Regions from separate parts of the Homo sapiens genome. Here region 2 is linked to region 1. Evidence: promoter capture Hi-C in human tissues and cell types (Jung and others, 2019). All regions are on one chromosome and are shown on one strand. The core of a region is centred on a gene start or on the middle of the fragment in contact, and the rest is flanking DNA. Distances in the headings are between cores, read along the strand shown.

The links. Contacts are between HindIII fragments. The study calls those that stand out against the background at their distance.
Region 2: a fragment that was not itself captured here is called in contact with the fragment with the promoter of RNF17 in region 1 in 1 of the 25 tissues and cell types used here (dorsolateral prefrontal cortex).

The regions. Positions count from the first base shown.
Region 1 is chr13:24,762,270-24,766,216 of GRCh38, reverse strand. RNF17 (ring finger protein 17) reads right to left here and starts at 2,048. Exons shown (of 36, transcript NM_031277.3): 1 at 1,884-2,048. The coding sequence starts at 2,013. The HindIII fragment of the contact is 17,753 bases long and covers 1-3,947 here.
Region 2 is chr13:24,296,675-24,300,621 of GRCh38, reverse strand. It overlaps SPATA13 (spermatogenesis associated 13), which reads right to left. Exons shown (of 13, transcript NM_001166271.3): 11 at 2,887-3,259; 12 at 147-221. Among named protein-coding and RNA genes, the nearest start is that of C1QTNF9, 11 kb to the left of the region's middle. The HindIII fragment of the contact is 4,817 bases long and covers 1-3,947 here.

The sequences.
Region 1 (3,947 bases), core at 799-3,298:
TCCATTCATTCACTCATTCTGAGACGGACCACGATCTCGGTTCACTGCCAACTCTGCCTCCTGAGTTCATGCTATTCTCCTGCCTCGGCCTCCGGAGTAGCTGAGATTACAGGTGTGCGTCAGCACGCCTAGCTAATTTTTTTGTATTTTTAGTAGAGATGGGATTTCACCATGTTGCCTAGGCTGGTCTTGATCTCCCGACCTCAAGTGATCCGCCCACCTCGGCCTCCCAAAGTGCTGGGACTATAGGCGTGAGCCACTGTGCCCGGCCTTGCATTAATTGTATTTTTTAAAAACTTTACAAGTTTCCTATCCAACTGAAATACCTGAAACTTGCTTACAACCATGCTAAATTTTAAAACCCTATTTAACTTCCAGGGATAATATTGCCAAAGAAATAAAAACACTTAACTATTATAAAATTTCTGATACTGAATAACTCAAAATAACTTGTGGTGAATTACAGCTTAAAAAGCACTTTCAGGATTCTATATACATAACCACTACTTCTCCAGTTTAGTTTTTCTAAGCATTATAATACTAATGTATGGAAGAAGTACTCATTTTAAAAGGTTGTGTTCTAGAACTTTATTCCGTAATTTTAATTTCATTCAAAAATGGAAATTTTCTACGTAACGGTAGCAGTGATCTAAACCCCAAGTAGGAGAAACTTGGTTCTCCACTGAAATCACAACTTTTTCTGCAGAGGCTCACATCTCACAGAGTCCATCTTGCCAAGACTGAGAAAACTGATCGAATGACCTTAACTTTGAAAGTATAAACATTAAACAGTTACGCCAGGTAATACGAATTTTCAGTAGCTCCAGGAATTGAGATTCAACAACTCAGCTGTATTAAGAGCACACTAAGGTATTTTAAGTTACATTAAAATAACTTGAACCGGCCGGGCGCGGTGGCTCACGCCTGTAATCCCAGCACTTTGGGAGGCCAAGACGGGCGGATCACGAGGTCAGGAGATCGAGACCATCCTGGCTAACACGGTGAAACCCTGTCTCTACTAAATATACAAAAAATTAGCCGGGCGTGGTGGCGGGCGCCTGTAGTCCCAGCTACTCCAGAGGCTGAGACAGGAGAATGGCGTGAACCTGGGAGGCGGAGCTTGCAGTGAGCCGAGATCGCGCCACTGCACTCCAGCCTGGGCTACAGAGCGAGACTCCAACTCAAAGAAAAAAATAATAATAAATAACTTGAACCTGTGATCACTTGAGTAGATTGTAGGTGAACAGACCAATAATAGTGCAGTGTATTTTTCCCCTCACGTATAAAGACCAACACACACACACACACACACACACACACACACACACCCCACAAGGTGCACAAAAGAAACTATCATTTTCCAAACAGTGTTTTAGGCCAGTGTGAGCCATAATGTAAAAAACAAACAAAAAAACCCCCACAGAAACAACAAAATGCTAACAACAACAACAAAATCCAAAACCATTTCACAATGGTCTACTTGTTACTCCTACAACAAAAACTACAGGAGAAAATCAAGTTTCGTTCCTTCTTGATGACAAAACAATGGGCTACATTTTATGTCTACTTTTGCATGCACCCGCTAACCTGCCTTGTGAGGAGTAGATTAAAGCCACCCGGGCCCCCATCCTCCCGGCTGGAGGGTCGGTGAGGCCTGGATGGGTAATTGGAGAAAGCCGTGACAGGCGCAGGTGCTGCCCTTAACCAACCCAAGCACTGCCCTCTTAGAGGTCGGGTGCAGCTCGCGGGAGGCCTGTGACGCAGTTTCTGGTGACACCAGGATTGGATGCAGCTGACCAAGCCTCACGCGCCCACCAGCTCACCTGGCCCCCAGCGCTCCCTCCAGGCTGCCTCCCCGCTAGGTGGGCCCTTGGGCTCCTCACCGGATGATCTGGATACCCTCCTTCCACACCTGGTGCACTGGATTTCAGCGGCACCCCAGGGCTGACTCTTCCTCCCCATTCGCTGGTAGGAAGACCTAGAAGGCCCAGTCTTCGAAGCCTCTGCCGCCATCGCTGTCTCTTTCTTCTGGAACAACCGCCGAGTGCGAGTCCCGGCGGCCCTCGCGGCAGCGACCAATCATTGGAGGCCAGCCCCTGCAGATAGCCAAACAGTGGGCCGGGAGATTAAAGCCCGCCCCCAAGCTCGCTCCTGATGGGGCTGGGGCTGTTTTCCGTTATCCTGGGAGGTACCACTCCTAGAAGGGGCGCCTTGTGGCCGTTGAGGACCGTTCGTTTTTACGTTCTACCCAAAGAGTCACCACTTTAGTGCTTTTAGTCATCACAAATTAAAATTTCGCATATTATTACTTACATTGTGAGTGACTTTATAGATAATCATTTGGATTGAAACAATCCCCTTTCCCTATTACGTGTCAGGGCCAGAAGCCCTAAACCTGTGTGCTTCGGGCATCCAGGGCTTGGCCAATAGCAGCTGGAGTGGAGAAGCTAATGAGAAGCTATCGTTGGGGTAGATTCAGTGAACGCTTTCGAATTAAGGAGTGTTCATCATTACTAACTGCTGTTGAGCCTAATAATATACAAGGCAGCGTGCCAAGAGTGGTTGGGGATGCTAAGAATTTATGAACTAGCAGGTTTCTGCTTGAGAGATACATAACTCCTTAAAAAAACCCAGTAACTTCCGCCAAAATAAGTGTTATGTACCGGACCTGTGTTAGAGACAGTAAGAATTAGCCTTCTGGGCCCGGCGCGGTGGCTCACGCCTGTAATGCCAGCACTTTGGGAGGCCAGGGCGGGCAGATCACGAGGTCAGGAGATCGAGACCATCCTGGCTAACATGGTGAAACCCTGTCTCTACTAAAAATACAAAAAAAAAAAAAAAAAAAAATTAGCCGGACGTGGCGGTGGGCGCCTGTAGTTCCAGCTACTTGGGAGGCTGAGGCAGGAGAATGGCGTGAACCTGGGAGGCGGAGCTTGCAGTGAGCCGAGATCATACCACTGCACTCCAGTCTGGGCGACAGAGCGAGACTGCGTCTCAAAAAAAAAAAAAAAAGAGTTGAAGCAACTTGTCCAAGCATAGTTCACAAAAAGCAATGAAGAAATGAAGTCAATATGGTCTACGGTGGTATGAAAACTCTTCGTAGAGGATATAGGGTTTGCACTAGACCTTACAACCTAGGTAGTACTTACAGGAGTAAACAAGAACTAAGGGATTCCAAGAATAAAGAACACATCAGCGAGGGAAGGTAGATGTGAGGGAAGGTAGATGGAAGACACAGTGACTTCTTGAGAATTTAAAGACCATTTAGCCAGAGTATGAGTTTCCTTAAAGTAAGCTTCTTTGGAGAGGTGTGTCAGGGAAGAATTTCGGAGAATCTCGAGTGTAAGGCTGAGGAGTTTGGACTTTACTCTTTAAGCAGTAGAGTGCATGAGACGTTTTGTGAGCAAGGAATGAAGTAATCTAGTAGAAAGGTGGCAGGTGTATTTCAAACAAAACACCTGGAGGTGGCACGGTTGCCTTTTGCTGCTAAGAATAAAGCCTGCCCATATTCCTCATTTTCTTTTCTCTCTACACTGTGTGTGGGTAACTAGAAACTGTGAAGTAAGTATTCTCTTGAAAGGCTCACTTCGGCTCAAAAATCTTTGTAATTTGTTGTCTTCGAGAGAAAAGTACTGCTTCCCTAAATTACCCTCATTCTACTACTCATCCAATAGTTTCCACTACTAATCCATGATGGAACTGAGTACTAATCAAGCCAATATTCTCATGTAACATGTTGACTCTTCTACAGTTTTGTGAGTATTATTCCCTATTCCCCTCATCTGGAATACCTACTGTTCACTCTTCATCAATTCATATTCTCTTTTTTTTTTTTTTTTTTTTTTTTAGAAATGGAGTCTTGCTCTGTCGCCCAGGCTGGAGTGCAATGGCGAGATCTCAGCTCACTGCAACCTTGGTCTCCGGGTTCAAGCAATTCTCCTGTCTCA
Region 2 (3,947 bases), core at 562-3,061, 470 kb after region 1:
CCCCTGTTCTGGACCTGCCCTTGAGTTCTAACTTCTACTGTTCTCCTTGCTCCAAGCTGGTCACAGGCTGACAACTTGGGGTATGCTCCCATTTTCAGGAGAATACTGATAAGCATTAAGGGGACAAAGCCTTCTCCATAACTTACCTTTTGACTTTCCATGTCCTGCCTTTTGAGCATTTAACATGGCAAGTTTCTTCTGGTTTTCTGAAATTTCCATTCCTGCATTTAGAAATAAATGTGATATATATTCAGAACACGTGGACATGTTTCAGAGCAAAACTTGTATCACAGCCCATATCAGCATTGAGGTTATCACCACAACCTGAGACAGAGAACCTTAATCCTCAAAGAACGTGGACAGGTTGAAGATCAGAAAAGGGGAAGTCACAAGGATTATCGCCAAGGTGGCCATGTGATTGTCCTGCAAACCCGGACAGTTTGGAGAGTGAAATGGGGTGGTGCTCATGAGAATGCAGAATGTCTGTGTGAAGCCCGACGCTCCCGGGCAAATATTCCCACAGGGTCATCCCAATTATAACCTAAAGGATGAGGCCCCAGAAGGAGAGGACAGAGCAAAGGGTCCCAGGGCGTGTTCACCCATACGCTATGAGAGCTTTGCACGTTAGCAGTTCCACCCTGAACAAAGGTACCACGTGAGTAGCAGGTAGCGGATTCTGTACCCCAGCTGTGTGTAGTGTGTGCCCTGAGCATTCCCTCACTGTAAAGTCCAGTAGCACAGTGACAGTGTACGTGTGCAGTGTGTGAACTGGGTGAAACAAGAGTCACTGGAAAGACAAGATGAGGCAACCCTTGGCTTCGCAGGGTGTGGGGAAGGAGAAGGAAGGACAGAGCTGAATGGCCAGGGCTGGGTGCTGGGGCCCTGCCTTCTCCCGCGGGAAGCCTTCCTCCTGTAGGCAGGTACTCGCTCCAGCTTGGCAGAGCTGACCCAGGCCCTGTGTCTGCTAGCTTGCACTGCCTGGCTCGCTCCCGAGGCTCCCTCTCTACCTCTGCCCACTCTGCTCCCCTGGCCCTGATTCCTTCACATGCCCAACATCTGTCCCAGACTGTCCTGACGTCAGGCTCAGGCTCTGTACGCTGGCCACCGGGCTGTCCCTGCCTCCAAGGCCCTCCGTGTCCATTCTCTCTGATCTGCTACCTGAAGCTTCTACCCACACACATGCATCAAGTACGAGGGCTGCCAAAATATTCGAGGCAAGGAATGCATCCAGTTTTATCCCACACGTGCCAGTTCACAGACTTACTGGCTCAGGAGTGCCTCAGTCATGCACTTGCATCTCTGAGCACTGGCCACAGGGAGCATTACATGGCAAAGGGCACCACATCGGGCCCCTCCTTTCCTTCCTATTGAGAGACACTGTTGAAAGCACATAGGATGCCCCCACTAAATAGTGCCGTCTTTGGGAATCCAAACACTCTGACTTACAGATGACTTCAGGGCCTGCGCTAGACAACGTCATATGACGACTAAAACTAAGATTTTGTGGCTCTGTCATTTTGCATTTTAGTAACTGTCATCTTCAAATGAATTCTGGGCACGAGTGATTAGCCCTATTCCAATGGGGCCCCAGAGTCTGCACCAATAATCTATGGCTGTTGCTGGGAATCAGATTTCCTCTTAGTGTAAAGGACACCCTGACACTTGGTGTAAGGGGCTGCCTGTGATGTGGGGAGCTCTGTATCTTGGAGTGGCCCAAGTCCAGGCCAATGTCTACCCATTGAGTGTTTCCAAGTCGATCCCTGCTTCCGTTTTAGCCTGACCAACTTGTAAATCCCTCCAACTCTACTGCAGAATCTCACAAAACCTCCTGTGGGTGAGACCAAATTCTGTAGCCAAGCTTAGAGCCAGTGGCTGGGGAGGACAGAAAAAGCACCTCCTGGTTTTTAGTCCTGCTGTCCTCATGGCAGTGGGCAAGGATGGGGAGGGGCGTATGCTGGCTCCCCTCCGTCCTGGACCATGACTTTTGAGGGCTGGGCTCACTTGGGCTGCAGAGATGAATATCCTTCACTGTGGCTCCCTGACTTCCATTCAACAGATTGTGCTCAAAACCCTAAAGAGCTTGGGAGGCAATGAAATAGAGGCTCAGAGACTGTGGGTGCTGCCATCATTAATGCCAGGCATGGCAGCTTCAGTCTCAGGGGCCACACTGCACCTCCAGGTCAGCAGAAGCTGGGAAGACAAACCAAAGAAGTACAAATGTAACACTGGGTGTGAAGTACCATCGCCTTAACTGCAATGGACGATGCGGCATCCTGAGTTTCATAGGGAGAGATGGGAAGCATGAGGGCAGGCTGCTGGGTGTGGATCAACTGTGGCAGTGAAGAACACTGAAGGTATTGCACAGGCACAGCCAAAGGGGAGGCCTCCAGAATCACGTGATACTTCTGATAGCCTGGGTGATGGTCACCATAGTGGGGTTCCATCTCTGGGGTCACACTGAACTGGTTTTATTATTTATTCTTCATACCCTGCATGTGGCATCCAAAGTGCTGGATTTAAATGTTATGTGGCCACAGTGCAAGAGTGGGCCAGTTCCATAAGCCTCAATTTTCTCATCTGTAAATTGGGTATAATAACAGCAACCACTTCATAGGGATTCAATGAGACAATCTCTATAAATGGGCCACAGAATGTCTGGCACAAGGTAAATACTGAATAAATGTTGCCGGTAGTAACTACATCTGACATGGTCTGTCTTGTAAGTGCATTCAGAAGTATTTAGGGTTTGCAGATCCCTTGTCCTTTCCCCATGGTGGGATTCAGCTCTGAGGGAGAAGGCTGGGCAGAGCAGGCCCATGGGAGTGGAGAATGAAGCTATTACAGCAAGCAGAGGCACAGGTGCCTGCAGAGCCAAGGGCTGCTCACCCATCTCCTTGTCCTCTTGCACCCGCCTCCTTTCATCTGCACAGGCCTGCAGCCACCTCGCCTTGTCTTCTTGTTTTTTGGCACAAAACAAATAAACCTCGTCTGTGGTCCTACTGACGAGCTTGAAGGCATTTTTCACGCTGAGGTTGCAGTCCTTGTCGCGCCCATCCCCCAGGTCCACAAGCTCCATCTCATCCATGTCCAGCCGGCCCTTGTAGTACAGCATGTCCCTGCGCAGCAGGTCCTTCTTGCAGGACACCAGCTGGTGGTCAAACAGGAAGAACGTCCGCTGCTGGCTTTTGCCTTGCTTAGTGATTTTGGTCAGCTCCCCAGAATGAATCAATTCTGAGCTTCGGTCTAAGATATCCAGTCCCTGGAAGGATGAAAACACATCTTAAGACCTTCCAATTCTACCACAGCTGTAGTCCTAGCTACTTAAGAAGCCAAGGTGGGAGGATCGTTGAGGCCAAGAGTTTGAGACCAGCCTGGGCAACACAGCAAGACCCCATCTCCACATAAAATTTTAAAAATTAGCCAGGCATGGTGGCACACACCTGTAGTCCTAGCTACTTAGGAGGCTGAAGCGGGAGGATCCCCTGAGCCCAGGAGTTTGAGGCTGTAGTGAATGGTGATCACGCCAGTACACTCCAGCCTGAGGGGCAGAGCAAGACCCTTCTCTCTAAACAACAACAACAACAAACAAACAAACAACAACAACAACAAAAACAAACTCCCAATTTGGATTCCTTCAGGTGTTAGGATATGGAAGAGACTCCTAACACAGAATCTTTCTCAGACTTTCTAGGTACCTGAGGCTGCCTACCACCTGTCCCCATTCACAGGTGGGCAGGGCCTCAAAGGTTATTTGTAATAAACCTGGATTTATTGGTCTCCTGGTGCCTGAAATTTCTTCCTTTTCTTTTTTTTTTCCTGCTTACTAGAAAAATGTGACAGTGCCTCTGTGTTAGCTGAGGGGTCTTCCTAGCCTGAAGCCTCTGGTAAGAGGCATGCTGAATTAATGGAACCCAGTCAAGATCTGAAACAGCAGCTGACCCAAACGG